5 separate regions of the Homo sapiens genome follow, and regions 1, 2, 3 and 5 are each linked to region 4. The links are contacts of gene promoters, found by promoter capture Hi-C in blood cells and fetal thymus (Javierre and others, 2016). All regions are on one chromosome and are shown on one strand. Each heading gives the region's core, a stretch centred on a gene start or on the middle of the fragment in contact. The rest is flanking DNA. Distances are from core to core; before and after follow the strand shown.

Evidence for each region. Contacts are between HindIII fragments. The CHiCAGO score rates a contact against its expected background, and 5 or more counts as called.
Region 1: a contact is called between a fragment that was not itself captured here and the fragment with the promoter of BTK in region 4, in 7 of 17 cell types (non-activated CD4 T cells, activated CD4 T cells, naive CD8 T cells and 4 more). The highest score is 11.4, in non-activated CD4 T cells.
Region 2: the fragment with the promoter of BEX5 here is called in contact with the fragment with the promoter of BTK in region 4 in 2 of 17 cell types (naive CD4 T cells and activated CD4 T cells); the score reaches 5.2 in naive CD4 T cells.
Region 3: a contact is called between a fragment that was not itself captured here and the fragment with the promoter of BTK in region 4, in 11 of 17 cell types (neutrophils, fetal thymus, total CD8 T cells and 8 more). The highest score is 11.1, in neutrophils.
Region 5: a contact is called between a fragment that was not itself captured here and the fragment with the promoter of BTK in region 4, in 1 of 17 cell types (total B cells). The highest score is 6.0, in total B cells.

Annotation. Positions count from the first base shown.
Region 1 is chrX:100,824,398-100,827,759 of GRCh38, reverse strand. CSTF2 (cleavage stimulation factor subunit 2) reads right to left here. Exons shown (of 14, transcript NM_001325.3): 7 at 1,003-1,126. Among named protein-coding and RNA genes, the nearest start is that of CSTF2, 5.7 kb to the right of the region's middle. The HindIII fragment of the contact is 2,048 bases long and covers 1,089-3,136 here.
Region 2 is chrX:102,153,712-102,157,284 of GRCh38, reverse strand. BEX5 (brain expressed X-linked 5) reads left to right here and starts at 1,308. Exons shown (of 3, transcript NM_001012978.3): 1 at 1,308-1,426; 2 at 2,475-2,541; 3 at 2,983-3,573. The coding sequence starts at 3,020. The coding sequence ends at 3,355. RefSeq lists an enhancer at 1,352-1,491. The HindIII fragment of the contact is 12,891 bases long and covers 1-3,573 here.
Region 3 is chrX:101,925,104-101,929,020 of GRCh38, reverse strand. The region is part of intron 1 of ZMAT1 (zinc finger matrin-type 1); the gene reads left to right. Among named protein-coding and RNA genes, the nearest start is that of ZMAT1, 5.0 kb to the left of the region's middle. The HindIII fragment of the contact is 2,183 bases long and covers 1,133-3,315 here.
Region 4 is chrX:101,384,437-101,388,291 of GRCh38, reverse strand. BTK (Bruton tyrosine kinase) reads left to right here and starts at 2,101. Exons shown (of 19, transcript NM_000061.3): 1 at 2,101-2,230. RefSeq lists an enhancer at 2,615-2,834. The HindIII fragment of the contact is 7,609 bases long and covers 1-3,267 here.
Region 5 is chrX:101,944,269-101,948,265 of GRCh38, reverse strand. No RefSeq gene overlaps it. Among named protein-coding and RNA genes, the nearest start is that of ZMAT1, 14 kb to the right of the region's middle. The HindIII fragment of the contact is 1,919 bases long and covers 309-2,227 here.

The sequences.
Region 1 (3,362 bases), core at 863-3,362, 560 kb after region 4:
AATGTCACTTACCCATGGACCTCCTGTCATGAAAGATAATTTAAATACAAGTATAACTCTATTAGGATAAAGTAGATACATAACAATCCTAAAGTAGATACAAAAAATTCCTGAGTTTGCAGAAATTTCTTCAAAAAATCTCTTCTTCCATTCCTCATCAACTTAGCTCTGCAGACTGGATTCTCTACAGAACAGAACAATTTAGAATTAAATCATTCTCCATGAGTAGTGTTGTACTCAACCTACCCTAGATTAGATAAATTAACAAAAACCAAGTTTGTTACATAAAAAAACTTTAAATATTGGTAATACATCATGTGTTCATACAGATGTTTCATATGGGGAATCATTATTTCACTCAATCTTCTTAGTTACAATTGTTGAACAAGGAACAGTTACAAGTATATGAGCAATACTCTTATTAATTGCCGATCTATACATTTTCAATAAATGTACATAGCTTTTAAATTTCTCTTTTTCCCTTTTGTTGTTTGTTCTGATTATGTTTGTTAAAATACAATTTTATGTCAGTTTAATATGCTATAACAAATGTGACCTTGTATTTTTTTGTCTGTTTTCTTCATGAGCTTTTGAACCTAATCTGACAGTTCATTCATATTTAGCAGAGTAACAACTACATTAGTTTTTATTCCTTCCATCTTACTCTACATTTATTATTACTTATTTTACACTGTCTCTTACTTTTTTCCTCTTCTCTATTTTTGCTGGCTTGATTTTGTTTCCACTCATTCCATTTTCCCCCTTGTTAACTTGGAAGTTTTACTATGCTCTTTCACTTTACTGTCCCTTTCCCTGTTCTTATAATTAGACATACAGGATTTAACGTAAGAAATCTACTATTTCCTCCACCTAAGATATATACTTTCTAGCTGTGTATTAATTTTACCTAAGGATCCCATTATCATATTTGGCTGCACTGCAACAGTGGCTATGACAAAACTTTAGCAAGTACTGAAATGGTGAAGACTAAATGAAACTTACCTCCAGGAGCTAAGGAACCAGGGCCAGGTCCTGTGACAGCAGCTGGCATTTGCCCTGGTGCTGGAACTCCACCCTGCATAGAAGCTTGCATCAGAGGAGGTGCGCCATTGACATGCATTCCACCCTGACCAAGCAAAAAAAACAGAGTATGTATATGCCTCTGTGGATACTCAATATACTAAGTCTACGACCTTAAAAGTCCTCTTCAAATGAACAGCCCCAAATACACTACTAAACATCCTTTTTGTATGGCATGTCTTATGCAGCATTAGATTTGTCACACACTTTAAACTCCACAGAAGCAATATACGTCATGAGCCTGGTTATATGGAACACGGTTAAGATGGAACATATTCTCAATGTAGAGATTGACAAGTCTTATCTGTGTGGCAAGGCAGCACATAACACCTACTGTTAACTTCATGATTGGGGCTGCCAATAAGAGTAAAAAAAAAAAAAAAAAAAAGCCCTAAACCCAAGAAACATAAAAGGAGACTGGGACTCTTTTAAAAAAAACAACTGCTGGTAGTCCACATTTTTAAAATTAAATTTTTTTTTTAATTTAACCAATCTTTTCTCACTCCTGTCCTTAGATATAATTCTGGTTTTGGGGGAATGTGAAATATATTTTTTTAAATGCTACATTAAAACTCGTTGAGAAAAAGAGAATGTCATCTTTTCATCTGTGCATTCCCCAAAAAACTGAGTAGTCCCTTGAATTAGAAACAGCTCAATAAATAAAGAATAAAAGCCAAGTTATATAAAAAAAATCACATATACGTTTAAGGAACACAAAACTCTACAAAAGAAAAGGAAGAGCTGTATAGGAAAGTAGTTAAGAGAAAACTGGCTGTGAGGTCAGATAAAACCAGGTTCAGAAATAGATCTGCCACTTATAATTGTGTCAATTTTTGGACCAGCTAACCTCTCTGGGCCTTAGCTTTTTTTTTCTATCTCTGAAAATGTATTTATTTATTTAGAGCAGGGGTTGGCAAACTATGACCCATGGGCCAAATCGGGCTCACTGCCTGGTTTTATAAACAAACTTTTAACGGAACACAACCACACACACTTGTTCACTTATTGCCTATGGCTGATTTCATACTACCATGGCAGAGTAGCTGTGGCAGATCCTGTGACTTGCAAAGCCAAAAATATTTACTGTCTGATCATTTACAGAAAAATGTTTGCTGGTCCCTGCCCTGTACCTCTGCCAACCTGAGAGATGAAAAATGGTAGCTTATTGTAGTTTCTATTTACATTATCTTATAACATTACATATATAAATGATAATTTATTACATTATCTTATTTTGAAGTTGAATAAATTTTTATATATTTATATTTCTCCTTTTGTGAAATATTTATGTCTATTTCCCATTTTTCTACTGGGTTATTGGAAATTTTCTTACTAATTTATAGGAGGCCTTTTAAAATTTATTATGAAAAATTACAGATATACAAATCATATAGAAAATAAAATAGCCACCCAGCTTAGGAAATAAATAAGTAAATAAAATAAACCAATGGCCTGTACGGTCTTCCCCAATTGCATCCTGTGCTCTCTTCTCCTTTGATGACCACTAAGACGTCTTCTTAATGTTTCAAAATTTTATATGAATCATTACATACTCAATATATTATTTTGCAACTCATTCCACATATTTTGGGGATTTATGCAGAAACATATATCCTACATTTCGGGAATGCATCCATATTCACTTAGTTTCATGTCCGTATGTCACTGTTTTGGAGTTGTGTTGATATTATGTATCCTAGTTCATCTTAACTGCTGTATGGAATTATGTTTTTCAAAGTCATTCATGTTGATACGTGTAGTTTATTTAACTGTTGTACAGTATTTCACTGGATGAATGTACCACACATTTTCTCCATTCTTCCACTGACGTACATTTAGGACATTTCCAATTTTTCACTCTAAGGCAATAAACATTCTTGTGAATGACTATGGGCTCTTTATTAGTCTGTTTTCCATCACATGTGTGGTAAATACTTTTTCTCAATTTGTCATGTCTTTGATACTTATTTTTTTCTTTATATAGAAATTTTTTAGTTTTCAAATGTATCAATTTTTTATGGCTTTAAGGTTTTGTGTCATGCTTTGAAAGCAAGCTTTACTTTTTTCATCAGTAAGAATGGAGATAATAAGAGTGCCAACCTCATACAATTGCTTTGAGGATTAAATGAGATAATGCATATGGAATAACGAAGTGCCAACCACAGTGCCAGGCATGCACATACACACAAAGTTAGCTTATAAGAAAAGGGCATACGGGAAGGATCTCTTTGTTTTACAAACTTGGAATCGAATCTATATTCATTCAGATGTCATGTGCTCTG
Region 2 (3,573 bases), core at 59-2,558, 770 kb before region 4:
TTCCCCTCTATGTGTCCATCACAATACATTTTCATCTGTCAGGGTAGCTTCCCCAAATTATTGTCCTGAATCATCAGGGCTAGGTGTTATTGTAAATTGTGGTTACACTAATACAATTTAGAGGAGATCATCAGTTTGTCACAGGTTCTCAAGACATGAAAATCCACCAGAGAGGCTCTATTAGACTCAATGCATCATTTCACGGAAGGACATGTAGAGATCCTTCACGAGAAAATCACTTCTTTCCTTCTTTCCTTCCTCTTTTCTTTTCTTTTCTTCTTCCTTTCTTTCTCTTTCTTTCTTTCTTTCCTTCTTTCTTTCTTTCCTTCTTTCTTTCTTGACAGAGTCTCACTCTATCGCCCAGGCTTGGTGTGCAATGGTGCTACCTCGGCTCACTACAACCTCTGCCGCCCAGGTTCAAGCAATTCTCCTGCCTCAGCCTCCCGAGTAGCTGGGATTACAGGCGCCTGCCACCACGCCCAGCTACTTTTTGTATTTTTAGTAGAGACGGGGTTTCACCATCTTGGCCAGGCTGGTCTTGAACTACTGACCCCGTGATCCACCCACCTCGGCCTCCCAAAGTGCTAGGATCACAGGCACGAGCCACCGCTCCCGGCCTTATTTCAAAGTCCTTAAAGGAGGCAGGGGAATGCTTTCTGGAAGGTTTATATTTATAATATGATTCAGCAGGAGAAACAGATTGCCATGTTTTTACAACTCGAATCCTGTTTTTTCAACTGAAAATAATTGTATTGTCTAGTTATAAAAACAACAACAAAATGAATGCATGCTGATGAAAAATAAAAGGAACCCCCTTCCCAAATAAACAAACAAAAAGGAAAGTAGTTGAAGTGAAAAAAAAATTTGAATACCACTTCCTGCCTATTTTCCAGACTTCCTAGCCTCTCGCTCCCCACCCCTTCTCCGGGTTCCAATCTGGGACCAAGCCCTACAAGACTGTTAGGGCTTTACTTGCTGGACGTGAAGGGGAGAGAAGTGTGCGTTTAGGTGTATAGAAGAGGAAGAAGCGATTTTTTAAAAGCTCCAGCAGAAACCAGAGCAAGCCAAATACAAAATATTATGACCCGTTTGGTCGTGGGGATCGCTAAATAAAAAAATAGAGGGGTGGATAGTAGCCTGTGGTAGTGGTGGAGAAAGCACGAATGAAGAGAAAGGTGGCCCCGCCCACAGTCCCGCCCCCACCCTCCTGCCGCACTGCGGGTGTGAATGGTAATTGGAAATCTGAGCTCACAGTGACGTGACCCTTAGGAGACCCAGAGCCAATGCGTGGATTAGTCCCTCCTCCTAGTTGCAGTCTGGTAGTTGTCGCTGGCCGTGTGACGGCTCGCTGTTGCCCTGAAGGCAGGCGAGCCAGCTGCCCAGGAAAGGTGGAAAGTGGTAGAAGCTGACCCCTGAGCCCTGGCAGGTAGGTGGCGCTGACCGGTGTGTGAGCAGCAGAGGGCAAAGACCAGAGCGGGTCTAGGACTGGATACACACCCTTTCCAGATACACACCCGTTTAGTGCGAGAAATGGAGCGGTTGGGGAGAGGATCTCCCGAGGGGGCTGGATTGAGAATGGGTACCATTTGAGATCTCCTAGGAGGCCGGCCATCGGGCAATGTCTGATGGAGTCCAGCCGGTGGAGGAGACTGAAAGGAAACAGCCTGCTTCCTGCAGGTCCGCGGGAGGGAGGTACAGCCGGCAACCAAGGGTTGGGGAGGGCGGACCCTGCCAAGGTTTTAGGCCTGCCTTCTAGGTATCTTTTCTTCACCCTCTACCCATTTAGAGCTGGAAATGATAGGCTGCGGGGGCCGAGGAGAGGAATTGCTGCAGAGGAGGGGGACAGAGATTAGGTCTGGAAAGCAGGTCCCTATTGCGGCAGTTGAGCGGGCGAGCTTCTGACTGAGGGACAGAGGCGAGGAGCGAGAAACTGTTTTTGGTCTCAGCAGGTCGGTCGGTGTAAGCGTGGGCGCTACCTGTAGATCCTGGAGTGAGAATGACAAAGCGCAGAGACCGCAGCAGGTCCTAGTTTTCAATGCCCACATACCTCTTCACTCATCGTCCATCTTGATGCATAAAATGGTGGGCATGGGAGTGGGGATCGGGTGGAGAGAGGGCCTGATGGATATCTAGATTGAAATTCTTTGTGAATAAACTACGTATTCATTCAGCAAGCTCTTCTAACTCCCCCGCCAGGCAAGTTGCCTGCGTTGCAGAAAGGGTAACTAGATGACAGGTAAGAGGAAACAGTAGAGATGGGCGCCTAAAGAAGAGGTTAAAACGTTTTGGAAATAATCATCTTTGATGCCTATTTCTGGAAGGTGGGATAGCCTGTCACAGGGTGGGAAAAGAAGCCGTGAGACAGGATGGAGGAGAAACAGAAGGTGCTAATACTAGGAGAACCCTAAATCAACTCCCATTACCGGTCCTTTGATTAAAAGATCAGTCCTGGTAATTGTCACATTTGTCTGCAGGTCTTTAAGTGCGTTTGTGCAGCCGATTTCAAGGCTAAGAGAGAAAGACTGCCTCTGATCCCTGAAGGTAGGAGGTTGCCTGGGGCCCTCTGGTGTAGGGGTATCAAGGATCAGAGCAGAATCTGGGTGACTCACAGCCCTTCCTGCCCGAGTTGAGTGCAGGAGAAACTTAGGAGAGTCTTCATAAAATGACAGCCTGTATCTGATGAGGGAAGAAGGGAGTAGAGGGGCGAGATCTGGGGCGCTCCTGGAGAGCTTATTAGGATCCCAGGGAGGTGAAGTCTGGTCTCTCTATGATCGTCCCCCTCCGCTAAGTCGTCTTGCATTTTGGCGGTAGGAGTGGCCTGGGGAAGGGATTTTCAGGGAAAATGATGGGCTTTGGGGCAGCGCTGGGTCTGGGGCGCCCCCTACAGGGTTCATAAAGTTTCTCAGGTGGGAAAACCTTTGCCAAACAGAGCTCTGAATCCTATCAAGCATTCATTCCCTCTTCTTGCTTTTTATCTTCTAGGAAGAAAAAAAAAAAAAAAACAGGAAAAAAACTCAACATGGAAAATGTCCCCAAGGAAAACAAAGTTGTGGAGAAGGCCCCAGTGCAGAATGAAGCCCCCGCTTTAGGAGGTGGTGAATACCAGGAGCCTGGAGGAAATGTTAAAGGGGTTTGGGCTCCACCTGCCCCGGGTTTTGGAGAGGATGTGCCCAATAGGCTTGTCGATAACATTGATATGATAGATGGAGATGGAGATGATATGGAACGGTTCATGGAGGAGATGAGAGAGCTAAGGAGGAAAATTAGGGAACTTCAGTTGAGGTACAGTCTGCGCATTCTTATAGGGGACCCTCCTCACCATGATCATCATGATGAGTTTTGCCTTATGCCTTGAATCTTGAGGTTAATAATCATAAAATCCCTGCTTTCTAAATTCGCATTTTTCCTGGTGTACCTTTAATGTGAACCTTTTGGCATTCTTCTGCAATTTTCTGATTGGAGATTGCATTTTGACCTAGTCTGTAAGTTTTTCTGTCAGAAGAGGACTTTCATCAACTTTCATGGAAAGATGTTTATTGCATACTGTAAAGTTAATAAAGCAATTTAAAAGCA
Region 3 (3,917 bases), core at 975-3,474, 540 kb before region 4:
GAAATGCCATCTGAAAAGACACATATACACTCAGAATTCACAGTAAAGGGAATTATGAGATTTTGTAGGACACTTCATATTTCATTTTTCAAAAATGTTTAATGGCTCAAAAATGAATTTTCACCCAGGAATAATGTTCTGATATATTCATAGTAAAAAAAAAATTGCTTATTTACCTCTTCCTTTTAAGAAAAAATATATCAAATTTATCCTGTTTTAGATTGGAAGACCTTCTGGCTTTTTATTTAGCTATTAATCCGTTTGTGTAGCAATGCCCTAACAAGACTATCATTTGTCTCCATATTATTCAGTAAAGTTTCAAGTCAAATGATAGTAAGACCACCATAAGAAAATCTAGTGGGTAGGCTGGGCGCGGAGGCTCACGCCTGTAATCCCAACACTTTGGAAGGCGGAGGCGGGCAGATCGCGAGGTCAGGAGATGGAGACCATCCTGGCTAACACGGTGAAACCCTGTCTGTACTAAAAATACAAAAAATTAGCCGGGCGTGGTGGCACATGCCTATAGTCACAGCTGCTCAGGAGGCTGAGGCAGAAGAATCACTTGAACCTGGGAGTGGGAGGTTGCAGTGACCGGAGATAGTGCCACTGCACTCCAGTCTGGGCAACAGAGCGATGCCCCATCTCAAACAAAAAAAGAAAGAAAAAGAAAATCTAGTGGGTAACCTTTCATGTATTCAGGAATCATTTATTGAACACTTCTATGTGTGTGTGCCAGGCACTATGCTTAGTGTTAAGGATATACGGACAAATTAAACACAGCTATACTAAACAACTCAATAATAGTGCTTGATAGTAAAATTATAAAATATTTAAATAAGGGAAGGAATGCAGTTTTAAATGTTACTAGTCAGAATCCTGAGCCACAGGACCATTCCATTGTTTATTATAAATCTGTACTCTGTAGCTCATAGTATTTTATATACTACAGGCACAGTGAAGCAAATTATACTGTAAATCTAATGGTGTGACGGAAGAATAGTAAACTGTTACAGAATTAGTTTTTAATTATCTGCATTTGGCAGGTGGAGATATCTGGAGAGAGGTAAATTATTATTTGTTCGTTTGTGATCCTCTCTATTAGATTTCAGTGTGTGAAAATACTAACTAAGCTTGTTGTAAAGACTAACTTAAGCATACCCCCTACTATATTTATTACATATCAGTTAGGATAAAAACTTTGATTCTTTCTCATCTGAAACCAGCCTTGCAGATTCATTCACATTTACTAACCTGTTGGAATGAATGCCATGTATTTGGTGGCTTTCTGATGCAAAGTAGCTGTCATGGGATCAGGTGTGTTAATGGATTTACACAGTACCTTAATTCAGTTTCTGACTTCACAAGCATGAACCCTGAGCTGGCTAGCTACAAAGTGCTTATGATTATGAAGGTAAAGGACTTGGTTTAAATAAAGACAATGTAAATGTTAAACATATAACTAGTACTCCCAATTATTTTGTTAATTCTGTTGTAATATGTAATTGTTAACATGCCATGGGAAACCCTTCATTATTTCTTTGATTGTGATAACTGTGTAAAGTAGCTAAAACTTGGCAAACTCATAAGTCAGGTGGTAGTCTTATAAACTGAAAAACTAAGGACACTAGATAGCATTATAGCTGTGAGTGGTCATCATGCTGAGAGGTACAGATCTGCATTTCTACCACAGCTATTATTCATGAAAATTCCTTAAACAGAGTGTGACCTTTAGGGGAAAAAGAGTTAAAACATTTTGTGTAGGTTAACTCAGTTCCCCAGTCTCCTATAACTTAGTGCTGTGCTCTGCTCATTCTTTTCTAAGATTGTGATGGTGTTAAAAGATTGCAAAGGTCAAGTCAGTTTTTTTTAATTCTATTTAATCAAGAATGCTTGAGGGAGTTTAAAAGTGTAATCATGGAAAATATAGCACATGTGCTCTTTGCACAATTAAAATGATTATTTCTCAGATTTTGTAATGCCTGACTTGAAATCTGTGACTGAGAATGAGATTTATGTTTATGATATTGCAGCCAGTCCTGAAGTTTGCTCCATTTTTGTTACTTTATTAAAATAGGGTATACAACGAATCCTTTATAATGCTAGATGTTTTTGCATCAAGATCAGTTGGCCTGTGAACTTCCCACTTCAGCAAAGCATTAAAACATCTAATAGCAAGTTTTTCCCATAAACATCTGACGGGTTATCCTGAGGAGGAAATTTGGGGTTTTGTGCAACTCAACCTAATTGTCATTTAACAAATGCAAGTGAGATTCACTTTATTAAATATAGCCAGTTATATCTAAAATAGAGTCACCTAATTTGAATAGCTTAAACTTGGGGGTTAACAAAGAACATTTAATTGGAATGAACAGAGAATTCTCTTGCCCGGAACTGAAGAAATATGGTAATTTTCTGGTTCCTTTCCTCAGAGATCCTGCATGGTTTACAATTCCATAAGCATGGGTGGACCAAATTCATTATTCTCACTCAAGCCATAAATGTTTTATTTTTGTCATAAAAATGCATTTCATCTTAAATTGCCTGTTGTTATGTAGTAGCATTAATTAGAAAATTTCAAATATGATAATTTGGATTTCACACTCAGCTGCACTTTTGAATGCAGAAGTTAATGTTACTTTACTTTCACATAATAGTGCTGCTATTTGGAGTAGGCACAATCCAACAAAAGTAGCTAAAAAGTAAGTTTCTGTCAAGTCAATCTCTTTGCTTTTTATATCATTGAAGGCAGATATTCTGGTACAAACTGAATTGAGTATTTTATATCAACATAAGGAATTTTAGTAATGCCCAAGTCCATAGAATGTGAGCTATTAGTACTCCTAATTGCATCTTACTGACTTAAGAACATCCCTCTATTACTATTGTCTCTTCCCAGACTACTAGAATTTTTTGATAGACCAAATCCACCTGAGTCTAGAATCATGTTTTACAGTTTACCTCCCTCAATTCTTTAATTCCTATTACCTCTCTGGGCCTTAGCTTCCTCCTTTATGAAATGAGGACATTGGATTGGTTCTAAACTGGAGGCAGTTTTGCCTCACGGGATATTTGACGTTGTCTGGAGATATTTTTGGTTGTCACAACTATGGAATGCTACCGGCATCTGATTGGCAGAGGCCAAAGATGCTGCCAAATATCCTATAATGCGTAGGACAGGCTCCTCACCACAATCAGTTATCCAGCCCAAAGTGACAATAGTGCCGAGTTTCAGAAACCATGAACTAGATGACCTCTAAAATAACTCTGGTCTAAATAAAATGATTATGTATAATATTAAGTAAAAAATGCAAAGCTTCTGGATTAGTGAACAAGCATACTTTATCAAGTGCCTACATGTGTTGAACATTTTAAAAATTATTTCATTTAACATTCACCAAATCCTAGAATTAAAAATTACACATTGTATTTCTGTACCTTTTAGGTGAAATAAAAAACGGTCCATAGTGGTTACATAATTTGCTGAAGGCTATATAGTTGTGGGTAAAGATGGGATTTGAATCTGTTTGACCAACTCAGAATCTTATTTATTTTTTTCCAACATCCCAGTACTGTAGGTCATAGTTTTTCTCCCCATTACAAATTATTATGAAAGATTTATTTTCTTAGGTCATGAAAACATTTCTTGTAAGAGGGAAATGAAGAGGTAAAACACTCTTATTTATAGAAAATTGGAGTTTATTCATTTCTCCCACCAAATGCTGAAGCCACACTTAAATGTAATCAAATACATTACTGGAATATATGAGCTCTCTGATCAGATCCCATTTATAATTTGTCACAAAACTACCATTTCATTTCAAATAACCATCATAAATGTTATTCAGAAGTGGATTGTTTATGTCATGGTAGCAAAACAACCATCACTTGCTCATGCAGTTTCCTCTGAGCAGCAGGTT
Region 4 (3,855 bases), core at 852-3,351:
TGCTCCTCTCTCTCTCTTGTTTAGCTCTCCCATTGGATGCCTATCACCTCCCAGTCCCCACCCCAAGATGGATCTTGAGAAAGGACAGGGCATGTGACAACAAGTGGCATAAGACTGAAGAAAAGAGCCTGGGCACGGTGGCTCACGCATGTAATCCCAGCACTTTGGGAAGCTGAGGCGGGTGGATCACGAGGTCAGGAGATCGAGACCATCCTGGCTAACATGGTGAAACCCCGTCTCTACTAAAAATACAAAAAATTAGCCAGGCGTGGTGGCAGGCACCTGTAGTCCCAACTACTCAGGAGACTGAGGCAGGACAATGGCGTGAACCCGGGAGGTGGAGCTTGCAGTGAGCCGAGATCATGCCACTGCACTCCAGCCTGGGCGACAGGGCAAGACTCCGTCTCAAAAAAAAAAAAAACTGAAGAAAAGAGGAGGGAAGATGAATGCCTGTGGCCAACCCTCAGGCAGGTGAGTGGAACAGCTATTGGGGGTGACTAGCGAAAGGATAGACGTTGTCAATAAAGTAAGGCAATCATACAACACATGCTGTCCATCTGTCTTGTGCAAATGTGAGTATCAACCACTCTATCATCAGTCTACAAATACTTTAAATGTTTTTATTTAAAGTCCTGTTGATGGCTGGGAGAGGTGGCTCACTCCTGTAATCCCTGCATTTTGGGAGGCCAAGGCAGGAGTATCGCTTGAGCCCAGGAGTTTGAGACCAGCCTGGGCAACATAGTGAAACCCCATCTCTACAAAAAGTAGAAAAATTAGCCCAGCACAGTGATGTGTGCCTATAGTCCCAGGTACTAGGGTGACTGAGGTGAGAGGATCACTTGAGCCCAGGAGGTGGAGGCTGCAGTGAGCCATGATCACGCCACTGCACTCCAACCTGGGCTTCAGAGCAAGACCCTGTCTCAAAAAAAAAAAAAAAAAAAAAAGGTCCCAGGGCCTGTTGGGGCTTGGGGGTGAGGGGAGGGATCTTAGAGGATGGGTCAATAGGTGCAGCAAATCACCATGTCACACATATACCTATGTAACAAACTTGCACCTTCTGCACATATACCCCATTTTTTTTGTTTGCTTGTTTGTTTGTTTTTTAGACAAAATAAAGAAAAAAAAATAAGGTCCTGTTGACTTAAAACTTCGGATGAAATTGTAGTGGGACCTGTGATCTGTTTCTACATTAGGATACAGTGCCTTGGGGCAAGGAAATATGGCAGTGCCCGAGGTGTCAAGGTGGGCAGGCAGATCAGTCAGCAGGGGCTCCACCATCATGGTCTGCATTCAATACTGGCTGCATTTCCTAGGAGAATCCCTGGGGGAATCATTGCAGTTGGAGCATAATGTAGGGGGCCCCTGAGAAAACCTCCAGGCTTCAAGTGACATACCTAGTCTGCTTTACCGGTTTACAGGACTCAAGAGAAAGGTGGACATTGAGAGTTAATCCCTGAGGCCAAATCTTAAATGGAGAAAGTCAACATCCACAGAAAATGGGGAAGGGCACAAGTATTTCTGTGGGCTTATATTCCGACATTTTTATCTGTAGGGGAAAAATGCTTTCTTAGAAAATGACTCAGCACGGGGAAGTCTTGTCTCTACCTCTGTCTTGTTTTGTCCTTTGGGGTCCCTTCACTATCAAGTTCAACTGTGTGTCCCTGAGACTCCTCTGCCCCGGAGGACAGGAGACTCGAAAAACGCTCTTCCTGGCCAGTCTCTTTGCTCTGTGTCTGCCAGCCCCCAGCATCTCTCCTCTTTCCTGTAAGCCCCTCTCCCTGTGCTGACTGTCTTCATAGTACTTTAGGTATGTTGTCCCTTTACCTCTGGGAGGATAGCTTGATGACCTGTCTGCTCAGGCCAGCCCCATCTAGAGTCTCAGTGGCCCCAGTCATGTTGAGAAAGGTTCTTTCAAAGATAGACTCAAGATAGTAGTGTCAGAGGTCCCAAGCAAATGAAGGGCGGGGACAGTTGAGGGGGTGGAATAGGGACGGCAGCAGGGAACCAGATAGCATGCTGCTGAGAAGAAAAAAAGACATTGGTTTAGGTCAGGAAGCAAAAAAAGGGAACTGAGTGGCTGTGAAAGGGTGGGGTTTGCTCAGACTGTCCTTCCTCTCTGGACTGTAAGAATATGTCTCCAGGGCCAGTGTCTGCTGCGATCGAGTCCCACCTTCCAAGTCCTGGCATCTCAATGCATCTGGGAAGCTACCTGCATTAAGTCAGGACTGAGGTGGGTCTGGGGTATGGCAGGGGCTGGGCAGCAGCAGCAATGTACCTTGCTTGGGACCCCTAAAAACCAGAGAGACAGCATGGCTGGTGCCATTTATCAGCTAGTGGAGGAGGCTGACGGAGGGTGGGAGTGTCATCAGCACAAGGCCCTGGCAGTCCCTTCTGGTGATTAGAGAGGCCGAAAGGGTCCTTTCCGACAAGGGCTGAGGGTGGGCGGAACAGGAAGAGAAAAATGTGACATGAGGTGACCATCCGAACAGGTAGCAAATGTTAGAAAGGGGTACCTCTGGCAAACTTAGTGGAAAAGTAATATTGCAGGGAGCAGTCAGATAAAAACAAGCCCTTCTGTCAAATAGTGCTTGAAGACTCAATAGGGATACATGGGTCAATGAAGCCTTTAGAAAAAGAAATACTAAGAGGCAGATTCTCTGAGAACATGGTAAAAGCTCACGCTCCACGTTATGAAGTTGACCTTTGTGAGCTAGGGAAAGGCCTGGCTAGGCCAGGGTGTAGGCTACCTGCCTTGAGCTGTACCAGGCCAAATGTCGCCAGGGTCAGAGCTGGCTTATTAAAGGACTGTGTGGAAGCTGTGCCAACCTCGTGGTAACAATGGGTAAAAGACTGGGCCAGGAGAAAGCAGCCTCTGCCTCAGCCCAGACAGTGCGGCCAACCCTTGAGGTTGTGGCAAAGGTTTCTCCTCTTACCATTGCCCTCCATGTGCATGGCTTGCTTTTCTCTTGTCTTCATTATTTCTCCTTTCCTTTCCTCCTCTCCAACCTCCTCCTCTTCCCACTCATCCTCTTTTCTCTACCTATATCCCCTCTTCATTATACCCTCCTCTGTTCTGTTGATTACCAGACCCTGACATACAGTTAGCACTTAACAAATAATTGCCGAATTGCATTGACTTTTTCTTGCTCCTTTCTTCCCCCGCTCTTTTCCCTTTTCCTTTCCCTTTCCATTTCCTCCTCCCTGCCTGCCTAGCACCTTCCCCATAAGGTGGTTGTGAGCAGTAAATGTGCAAATACATGTAAAGCTTTTAAAACAGGGCCTGGCAATAGTAAGTGCTGGATCTCAGTATTTGCTATAATTTTTACTCTGCCTCAGACCTGCCAATGTCCCCCAGAGGGCCTACCTAGAGCAAATAATATGACATTTAGAATAAAAGTGATTGGTGACCCCAATCAAGACATCCTTGGATAAGTTGCCCAGACTCCAGCCTCTCTGGAGCCTCAGTTATTTGATAAAATAATGTCACTTTCCAAATAAGCCACAAAATGCAAATACTCATGGCAACCTAAAGCATTATACCCAAACAGTGTCCCTTAGGGCTTGTCCTGTCTATTCTGACTCCTTTTATATTCAAACTATTTAAACTGCTTGCTTGTGTTGAAGTCCAAATTTCCATTGCGTATGGCTATTGATATTTTTGTTTGGAATTTTTTTTTTTTTTTTTTGACACGGAGTTTCACTCTTGCTGCCCAGGCTGGAGTGCAATGGCACGATCTCGGGATCTCAGCTCACCGCAACCTCCGCCTCCCGGGTTCAAACAATTCTCCTGCCTCAGCCTCCCAAGTAGCTGGGATTACAGGCATGTGCCACCACGCCCAGCTAATTTTGTATTTC
Region 5 (3,997 bases), core at 19-2,518, 560 kb before region 4:
GGACTGTGACAATGTCTGAGTGGCCTTATGAATTCAGTCTGTGTTACAGAATTGAAAATAACTAAATGTGTTCCTGTTATACCAGAGATTGTCATAAGGTCCAATATGATAGAAAAAGATAGGTTGGTGCTTCTTTCTGTGGGGAGGCTAAATGAGAGAGGTTGTTGTGGGCTGCATGTTTGTGTCCCCTCAAAATTAATATGTTTAAACAGTAATCCCCAGTGGGATTGTATTTGTGAGATCTCTCCATGGTGTCATTCAACAGGGTTTAGGTATGGTCTAGGCAAGTAAGGACCTGCCAATAAGCTTTACTTCTTTGTAAGGTATCCTTAACATTGCATAAATAAGAAGTATATGAAATCACAAAGGCATATATAAGCAGGATGGGTGGGATCTTTAGTTAAGCAGTTCACAGTAACCATGGTGGTGTTGGCATCTGGTAGGTAGGAAACAAATATCTGCATAGATTGAAACTTGGGGTATAAGGCAGGAGGTGAGAAATAAGAAAGAGTAGTTGGGGAAATTATAGGGGATCCAGGTGGGTTTACAGGTGGAGTGGAAGAGCCAGGGGTTGTTTTTGGAAGCAAGGAGGAGATCAAAATCTTTGTTTGGTGGGTTTGGGCATGGAATTTTGGGGGCAGGACATCCTAGGGTATCATTGTTAATGCTGGGACTGTCAGTTGTGCTGAGATCATCATTTGGAAAGAGTTGGTCTCTTTGGCAGAGGTCATCATCTTGGAAAAGTTGGATTGACGGTCTGAGGTCATCATTCTTGAGGTGATGATTGTTGGCCTGTGTTGTTCATTACTGCTTGTGGATGTTAACTGTAAAGAACCTAGTGTGGTGGGAGGTCAGGGCTCCTGATGTGAGTCTGGAGCTACCTTTAAGACCTTGAGGTAAAGTACCTTTGAAAAGTTATTATGAAAGTGTCCAGAGATTTGTCTTTTGCCCTAGCAGTTACAGAGTCACTTCTTATAGAAAAACTGTGAACTAATTGAATACTCCAAACAAGAAGGAGGAAAAGAAGCCCAAGGACTTTGGCATTGAGCAGAAGTGGCAAAGTCCACATCCAAACCATGAACTAAATTAAGTCTTGGCCAGGACAAGCATAACCAGAATAAATGCTCTACAACATTTTCAGGCTTTTGGCATATAGTCCCTGGTATGCTCAGGGTGTTTGTTTATTATGATGAGATTCATGGATATTGTCATCTTGAATCCTGTAGTGGCTCCTCATTCAACATCACTGTGATGGGTTGGAGCCAGAGCTGGTATCCTACTTAATAATATTGGCTCTGAATACTAATTTCAGATCTTTTATTCTTCATTGGAAGATCTACACAGTTGTAAGTGTGGGATCAGTTGCAGAGATCTCTATTCCCTGTTAAGAACCTACAGTTAGTTAACTAAACTTAAAAACCATTATAAAGGAGAATGACGGCAGACTTTGGCAGAATGCCTTTTTGTGGCATATGGAATAAACTTTTGGGGTGGGGGAGGTTCTGGATTTTATTGATCCCCATTCTGTTATCTTCCTTAAATCCAGGCATCAATCTGGCATAATTTATGCCAAAATAGAAAAGAGGTAGTAAAATGGGAAGGTGTCATTAAGTGGAAGGTGATATTATATTTGGGTATCCTATATCTAGAGTCGTAAGTGAGAAGTGCCCATTTTATGGCTAGAAACATGATAATGAATGTTTAAGGAACAAAATGGCAAGTTCATAAAGCGATCTAATATATAGATATATTTAATGAAAGCCTGAGTTTAACTTATTGTTGTTTGCATGATAATTAACCATAGTTATGTGTTTTCCCTAAGAACTTATTTCCTCATCTATGAAATAAAAATAAAAGTACACACAACATAAAAGTGTTGGAAAGAATAAAAGAAGGAGTGCACATATCTTAAGTGGTATTGTTCCTGACACTTAAATTCTCAATGTATGTTAGCTGAATATATCATAATTTGTAATCCTACCAGCCAACCAGAAGGAGAATGAAGATTAGTGGAGATAGAGGAAGTTTAATGCATTTTGTTTAGTCCAGTACCCTCCCTCTGGTGCAGTAATCTGAATAGACCCATATAGACCCTAGGCTGGAAAATGGGTGGTCTGGGCAGTTCCTAGGACTGTTGAAGTGCAACTGGTCGGCTCGGGGTGTAAGCAGTTAACACCTTTGGCATCTGCTTATGACCACTTAGGTAATCTCTAAGAAGACTGAAGCTTTCTCTACAGCACTCCTCTTCTTCTGAGCCTTCACCAGCATCACTCTTAATGCTCCACTCATGGCAATGTAGTCTTCTTCTAGCATGTGCCTCCAAATTCTTTCAGCTTCTACCCATTACCTAGTTCCAAAGCCACTTCTATATTTTTAGATACTAGTTGCAGCAGCAATCCACTTCTTGGTACCAGTTTCTGTCTTAGTCCATTCGGGTTGCTATAACAAAATACCCTAGACTGGGTAATCAATAAACAAGAGAAATTTATGGCTCACAGTTCTGGAGCCTGAGAAGTCCAAGATCAAGTTGCCAGCAGATTTGATGTCTAGTGAGTGCCTGCTCCCTGCTACAAAGATGACTCCCTTTAGCTGTACCCTCACATGCCAGAAGGGCAAAAGGGGCAAACAAGCTCTTGCAGGCTTCTTTTATAAGGAAACTAATCCTATTCACAAGGCCTCTGCCCTTATGACCTAGTCATTTCCCAAAGACCTCGCCTCTTAATATTAACACATTGGGAAATTGATTTCAACATATGAATTTGAGAGGGACACAAACATTCAGACCATAGCAACTGTCAAAAATTTTGTGAACATGATTTAAAATCACCAGCTTTCCATTTTTTTATTTTACTTTAAGTTCTGGCATACATGTGCAGAACGTGAAGATTTGTTACATAGGTATACATGTGCCACGGTAGTTTGCTGCACCTATCAACCCCATGCTTCTTTTTTATCCTATTAACTTCCTTCATTTTATCCTACCAACTTTTCACAACAAATATCAACAAGTGATATTGTTTTAAACTTGTTTTTTCATCTTTTTCTACATTAAGAAGAAACTTTAAAAACTGTTTTTTGTTGTTGTTATTGTTGCTGTTATCACCAAATATGTGCTCACTGGTTTTGGGAAGGATTGAAGAAAGTTTACATGGTCCTTGTACTCTGGGAACCCCAGGAACTCCATGACTGCTGTGTGCCAGGTACTATGCTTGCTCCTTGACACAAATTACCCAATTATTTCCTTCAGCATAACTATGATCCGGAGTGTTATCATTTCTATTCACCAGATGAAATCTTGGGTAACACAGTCACTGTATAGAAAAAATTATATTGTAACTCATATTCCTATGACATTATATTCAATGTTATTGCCTTTAGCATTAGTCATTATTGAAAAGAACCTAAGGTAAGATCAACAAAAATATGAGAATTGACTTGATAAGTCATCTGTATTATATATTTGAATGTCTAATGTGAAGACATATTAATAGAAAAAGAGCTATTGAGAGACATTGCAAGTGTTCTATAAATCATATGGGTTCTAGAAATGGAAAATGTGGGCCAGGCATGGTGGCTTATGCCTGTAATGCCAGCACTTTGGGATGCCGAGGCAGGTGGATCACGAGGTCAGGAGATTGAGACCATCCTGTCTAACACAGTGAAACCCCGTCTCTCCTAAAAATACAAAAAAAAAAAAAAATCCAAGTGTAATGTCACGCACCTGTAATCCTAGCTACTCAGGAGGCTGAGGCAGGAGACTCACTTGAACCTGGCAGGCAGAGGTTGCAGTGAGCTGAGATCATGCCACTGCACTCCAGCCTGGGCAACAGAGTAAGGCTCCGAATCAAAAAAAAAATGGAAAATATGGCTTGATTTTGTGTATCAAAAAAAGGCTGAGTGTACTGGCTGTGGTCTTGTGATCCTGGTACTCTTGTGAGAATTGTACATTGGGTATCTTGTGATCAATGTCTTGATCAATGATAACCCTGTTGTGTAG